Regions from separate parts of the Homo sapiens genome. Here region 1 is linked to region 2. Evidence: promoter capture Hi-C in 16 types of primary human blood cells and fetal thymus (Javierre and others, 2016). All regions are on one chromosome and are shown on one strand. Each heading gives the region's core, a stretch centred on a gene start or on the middle of the fragment in contact. The rest is flanking DNA. Distances are from core to core; before and after follow the strand shown. Region 1 overlaps RAD18 (RAD18 E3 ubiquitin protein ligase). Region 2 holds the start of FANCD2 (FA complementation group D2).

Evidence for each region. The method cuts DNA at HindIII sites, captures the fragments that hold promoters and counts their contacts. A CHiCAGO score of 5 or more calls a contact.
Region 1: a fragment that was not itself captured here is called in contact with the fragment with the promoter of FANCD2 in region 2 in 1 of 17 cell types (neutrophils); the score reaches 5.3 in neutrophils.

Annotation. Positions count from the first base shown.
Region 1 is chr3:8,956,129-8,959,619 of GRCh38, reverse strand. It overlaps RAD18 (RAD18 E3 ubiquitin protein ligase), which reads left to right. Exons shown (of 13, transcript NM_020165.4): 2 at 619-700. Among named protein-coding and RNA genes, the nearest start is that of RAD18, 5.6 kb to the left of the region's middle. The HindIII fragment of the contact is 8,076 bases long and covers 1-3,491 here.
Region 2 is chr3:10,025,177-10,028,425 of GRCh38, reverse strand. FANCD2 (FA complementation group D2) reads right to left here and starts at 1,989. Exons shown (of 44, transcript NM_001018115.3): 1 at 1,953-1,989. It also overlaps the pseudogene CIDECP1. RefSeq lists enhancers at 1,256-1,890, 1,891-2,526, 3,162-3,249. The HindIII fragment of the contact is 7,543 bases long and covers 1-3,249 here.

The DNA of each region.
Region 1 (3,491 bases), core at 469-2,968, 1.1 Mb after region 2:
TTTCACTGCCCCAGCTCTTTCCAGGCTTCCTCATTTGGCTGCATGTGTAGTACCATGCCGAAAGCACTGGACTGCCAGACGGGAGACAGGAATTTTGGTCTTGGCTTGACTGATGCCTACTATTGTGTGCCTGCTTTTGATACCAGTTTCCTCTTTTGACTAGACAGTTTCTGGAGTTTGGCTTTAACATTCTTTGATTTGATTCTTAACTTGTGTGGTGGCAATGGCCACCTTTCACCCAATAGTGACTATAGGCTAGGTGTTGGAGTCTGAAGAGGAGGAGGCTTGGAGTAAGAGCTGGAAGCGCATTAGAAGTGGAACAGAAGTACAGTAGCCCTTATGTGAAGGGATGACAATATGGCACAAGAATCGGTGTGCCATCATCTTTAGCTGTCTAAAGCAATTTGGGCAACCTGAGACTGAATGTATAAGAGTCATATGAGAGAAGTTTTTATTTATTTGTCAAGATCCCTTGCAGTTTATCTGGAGTTAGCTTTTGAATTTGTGTATTTGACAAAGAGTTTGATTTTTTTTTTAGGGGATAGAGAAAAAGTTTTGTGACAGGACTTCCAATTTTGATGTCTTTCTGATATGTATATATGCATATTTGCATTTCAGACAATAGATGATTTGCTGCGGTGTGGAATTTGCTTCGAGTATTTCAACATTGCAATGATAATACCTCAGTGTTCACATAACTGTAAGTATGTTTTGTTCCTGTGAGTTAGTAAATTGCGATTTTTACATGAGGTAGTGTTAATTTAACACCAAAGATATGTGCACATATTTATGTTTCACCTTTAGCTCTTCTATCTTGTAGTTTTTCAGAAGGTCTTTTTCACTGCCTTCCTCTTGAATATTGAAGGTTTTTACAAGGCTTCTATATTTTCTACCTCGTTCCTCTTTGATATTTTTATGATTCTTATAGCATTTATGGCAGTAAAATTTTTGGTCACAATAAGTGGTTCTTTATTTGCCAAGTGTTTTTTGACGTTAAGTTTCAGAATTTTTGTTTTTAACAGGATAACAGATAGGTGGTTCCACCAAGTAGTACTTGATATAGAATTTCAAAGTTTAAAAATCTGTAACAATAAGAATATTGCCCCAGTGGGAGAATTCTACCACTGACTTTATTACAGACAGTTTTATACCTTAACTGCTATGTGACGCTGGAAAGACTCATGTTGGAATTTGTTTGTACTTCTCTTTAAGAGTCTAGTATATAAGCATTTAAAAATATCGTACCTTAAGATATTTAGTGCATAGGGGTTACCCTATCATTGTTGAGGAGCTAGACATACAGTTTATGGGTTATTCAGGTTCATGATCTTTCTTGTCCTCTATTTTCAAGTTGATTTATCTTGGAAAGTTAAAAACAGTCAACTTAGGCCTAAGAAATTGGTTTTAGTTGGTAGTAGCTTTGGTGGAAAAGTTTCTGTGGAGAAGACATAGTAAGAGGGTAGCAGTGACGGCAGCACGGGCATTGCAGATGCCCTTGGGCTTGACTCTTGAAAATCGGGTGAGAATTTACTACTTTAGAAAATGTTTGTGAGAATTAAATGTGCAGAACTCACTGTCCGGCACATTATGAGTCCTTAACAATGTTAGTTTTCTTCCAGACAAGATTCACATTAAAAACCAAGATAAGTTTTGGAGATTGTTTTAAAATATATTTTAACATCATCTTTATTTGGGTGTAATTTACATACAATAAAATACATCCATTTTAAGTGCACATTAAGGTATAAAAGTGTTCATGAATTTTGACAAATGTGTATGCTGTGTTACTACTGCAATTAAGATACTGAACATTTTCATTATCTGATAAATTTCTCCCCATCTCAGTCAGTATGACCTCAGCTAGCCATCTGTAGTCTATTTCTGGACTCTTCTATTCCATTGATCTTAGAAACTTAGTAGTTTTTCACCAAAACTACTGCCCACTAAAACCAATTGTTTAGGCCTAAGTTTACTGTTGCTTTAGCTTTCCAAGATAAATCAACTTGAAAATAGAGAACAGGAAAGAGCATGAACCTAAATAATCTGTAAACTGTTTGTCTAACTCCTGAACAATGATAGGATAACCCCTATTGCAGTAAATACCTCAAGGTACAATATTTTAAAATGCTTATATGCTAGACTCATATATGTCTATCCTTGTGCCAGTACCACACTATCTTGATTACTGTGGCTTTGTAGTAAGTCTTGAAGTCAGGCATTGTAAGTCCTCCAACTTTTTTTTCTTCGTTTTTTTTAGGATCGTTGCATTTTAAATGCATTTCCATGTATAACTTAAAATCAGGTTGTCAATTTCTACCAAAAGCCTGCTGGGATGTTCACTGGAATTGTATTGAATCTAGAGATCAATTTGGGAGAATTGACATCTTAACAATGCCGAGTCTTCAGTGTATGAATATGATACACTTCTCTATCTTTATTTCTCTCAACAGTGTTGTTTGATTTTCATTGCACAGACCTTGCACAAAGAAATATAACTTATATTGACCTTTCGTCTTCTGACTGCAGTAAATTCACTTTAATTCCAGCATCTTTTTTGTTGATTCCTTAGAAATTTTTGCATACACAATCATGTCATTTGTGGATAAAGACAGTTTTACTCATTCCTTTCTGATCTATATGCCTTTATGTTTCTTTTTGTTACACAGGCTGGTACCTCAACTACAGTGTTGAAAGTGGTGTGGAGGGACATCCTGTCCTTACTCTTAATTTTTTGGGGAAAGCATTCAGTCTTTTACCATTAAGTATGATGTTAGCTGTAAGTTTTTTTTATATTCTTAATATGTTTTCATAAACCTACCAAGTTGAGGCACTTCTCTACCCCTGGTTAGGCGAGAGGATTTTTTTTTTTAAATCATGAATGGGTGTTGAATTTTGTCAAGTATTTTCTGCAGTTATGGAGATGCTCATATGATTTTCTTCCTTTATTTTGTGACATAGCTAATAACGTTGTTTTTGTTTTGTTTTGTTTGGGAGACAGGGCCTCACTCCCTCACAGTGGCTTTGTTACAGACTGGCTTTGTACTGTAGTCCCCCCTTATCTGTGATTTCAGTTACCTGTGGTCAACTGCATTCTGAAAATACTAAATGGGAAATTCTGGAAATAAATAATTCATAAGTTTTAAATTGCACTCTGTTCTAAGTAAAGCACTGATGAAATCTTGTGCCGTCCTGCCCAGGATGGGAATCATCCCTTTGTCAAGTGTGTTGATGTTACATATGCTATCTACCGTTAATCGTTTAGTGACCATCCTGGTTACCAGATTGACTGTTGCAGCATGGCAGTAATTGTCACTGTGTTGCAGAACACAGTAATTGTGTCAAGTAGCGCTTATTTTACTTAATAGTAGCCCCAAAGCACAAGAGTAATGATGCTGGCAATTCGGATATGACAAAGAGAAACCATAAAATGCTTCCTTTAAGTGAAAAGGTGAAAGTTCTTAACAAGGAAAGGAAAGAAAATTGTATGCTGA
Region 2 (3,249 bases), core at 740-3,239:
TCTTTAGGCAGACTACTTCGCTGTTGCTGAAGGATAAAACCCATCACTCTCCATCTGAGATTCAAGACCCTCCATTATCTATCCCCAACGTACCTGTCCTTTAATTCATGATTTCAATACTATATGTTAGGGACTGTGCTAGGTGCTGGGGTTACAACTGTGAACTAGACAGACATGATCCCTGTCCTCAGGGAATTTACAGTATGGTAACAAATAGCCTTAATGTACTGAACTACAGTTATGTAAGTGCTATAAAAGTACAGGTTCTATGAGGGCTTACTAGGAAATTTAGTCTAGTTGCTAGTAAGGGTGGTAAAGAGAAGCAAGGACCATTTCTTAGGGACAATCTCCTTGAATTTTTTTTTTTTTTTTTTTAGTAGAGACAGGGTTTCACCATGTCGGCTAGGCTGGTCTCAAACTCCTGACCTCAAGTGATCCACCCACCTCGGCCTCCCAAAGTGCTGGGATTACAGGTGTGAGCCGCCCGGCCTAAAGAAGTGATTTTTTTTTTTTTTTTTTTTGAGACGGAGTCTCACTCTGTCACCCAGGCTGGAGTGCAGTGGTGCAGCCTCGGCTCACTGCAAGCTCCACCTCCCGGGTTCACACCATTCTCCTGCCTCAGCTTCCCAAGTAGCTGGGACTACAGGCGCCCGCCACCACGCCCGGCTAATTTTTTGTATTTTTAGTAGAGACGGGGTTTCACCGTGTTACCCAGGATAGTCTTGATCTCATAACCTCATAATCCGCCCGCCTCGGACTCCCAAAGTGCTGGGATTACAGGCGTGAGCCAACCGCGCCCGGCCTGAAGAAGTGATTTTTAGGCAGGGACTTGAGGGCTGAAACAGCAGTTAGCCAGTAGAAGGGGTAGGAGAAGAGGAGTCCAGGCAAATAGATACTCATACTGAAACAAGGAGATGTGGAGTTAGAAATCAGACAGCAGAGGTGGGGGAAGTGCCTGAATCACATGACCTTTTAATCTTGTAAATCAGAACCTTCGTGGTCTCAGTGCCTTTGCACAAAGGTGTTCTTTTCATCTGAAGTGCTCTTATTTGCCTGGAAATTCCTACTCAGATCTAAACATTCAATCGAATGTCATCTTCCTTGAAAAGTGTTCCTCCTATCCCTAAGGGAGTTTGCTACTGCAGCTTCCCTGCTCCACAGGGTATACCTAGGGGCCCTTACCTCACACTAGACTGGGGCTCTTTGAGAGCAGGAACCCAGTCTCACTTACTCAATGTCCCTAATGCCCAGCATAGTTACCGGCATAAGGAAAATTTCTGAGAATATTCAGAGTGAAAAAAGCTCGCAGTGCAGGGGAAATGCTAAAAGCTAACAAGAACTGTTTCAAGTGCTTTATATTTAATAATTCATTTATTTCCCACAAAACTTTTTGAGGTGGGTACCATTATTCTCATCATCACGGGCAGAACTGGGATTCTAACTCGGAGTCTGGCTTCAGCACCTGCGCTCTTCACCACCTATACTTACTCTTGATGATTATAATGACTTCTAATAATGGTTAACATTTACGAGGTACCGGGCCCTGTGCTAAACTTTTTATTTATCGCCGCTTCGGTTAATACGGATAACCATTATCAGCCATCTTGCAGATGGAAAAACTAAGTCTTGTCAGCACGTCCGGCTTCCAGGCACCCGCCTTTAACACGTGCGATACCATCTGGCTTCCAGAAAAGCCCAACAGAAGTGAGATGAGGCCGACTGCCTGGATTAGTTCATCGGGAAGCGGGTGAGGGTAAAAGCCTTTCTCGTTTCCGCATTTTAATGACGCAGAAAGGTACCTGTGGGGATTATCCCATCTCAGGGCAGATGAGGAAGCCAAGGTTCGGGGCGCGGAGCCCCAGAGGAGAACGCCGACCGCGGCCCGGACTTAGAGATTAGGCCGCAGGGGAGCGGGGCCTCGAGAGACTACGACCATTGCTCCACTTACTCACCGAGAAGCCGTCGCCGCCCGTAGTTTTCGACTTTCCCGCCAGGCCCGACGCCGCTCTGACGCCACCGAGGCGCGCCATGACGTGACGCCAACTTCCGCGCCGGAAGTGGAAGGCCGGGCAGCCCAGCTGAAGGCAATAAGCTGGGCTCACCGCTGCAGCAGAGTTCTGTGCTAGCCGGGCATAGGGGCGAGAGAAGGCCCAGAGGCGACGTCAGAGAGAAGCAACTGCGCCCCGGTGAAGAGAAGCTCGCCCATCACCGGCTGGGAGCCAGCTTTCAGTGAAGATGGCAGGGCCAGAACTGTTGCTTGACTCCAACATCTGCCTCTGGGTGGTCCTACCCATCGTTATCACTCTTCGTAGACATGATCCGCCACTACGTGTCCATCCTGCTGGAGAGCGACAAGAAGCTCACCCAGGAACAAGTATCTGACAGGTCAGCGCCCTCCCTTCCCCAGCCTACCTCACACCGCCGTGACCTTGGACAAGAAAGTGCAGGCGTTGTGTCAGTTTGCCTAGGTTCACGTCTCGCCCCCACTGGCAAGGTGACCTTACCCGTTACCTCTGTGTTTCACTTTTGTCCTCTGTGAAATGGGGATAATAACAGTACCTCCCTCATAGACAGGTGGGAATCAAATTAGATGATGTCTGTAAATCCCTTAGCACAGGATCTAGGACGTATTGAGTGTTAAAAACAAAAAACAAAAACGGTGCTGTTAATCCTTTAGGTTAGTCGCCAACCCTCGGTGGGTTTACCTATGAACTATCCCATCCCACCCTTTCGTTGGGAAGAGTGCCTGGTGCTTTATAGCTTTTAGTATTTGTAACATCCAGTCAAGTGAGTGTGATAATCTGCATTCTACCAAATTACTGTTCCAATGGTTAGCTGAGATGCTAAGCACCAAAGCGCTTTGCAATCTGTAACACTGCTGTTAGACATGTAAGGAATTGTAATTATCATTTCCCTTCCTAGGGTGGAGGCAACTTCCTCACATACTTCATTGCAGTATTTATTTATTTATTTAATTTAACTTAATTTAATTTTTGAGACGGAGTTTCGCTCTTGTTGCACTAGATTAAGTATCTATTATTTTTCCGTTTGCATATTTTATCACTTGAACAGAAACTCTGAGCGCAGGGTCATGACCTTGCCTTACTCTATACCCCATAGCATGCAGCAGAGTGCAAGGCACATGGTAGGCCATCAAAAAACTTGTTCACAGCCAGGCGTGGTGGCTCTCACCTGTAATCTCAATACTTTGGGAGGCTGAGGTGGGAGGATCGCTTGAGCCCTGGAGTT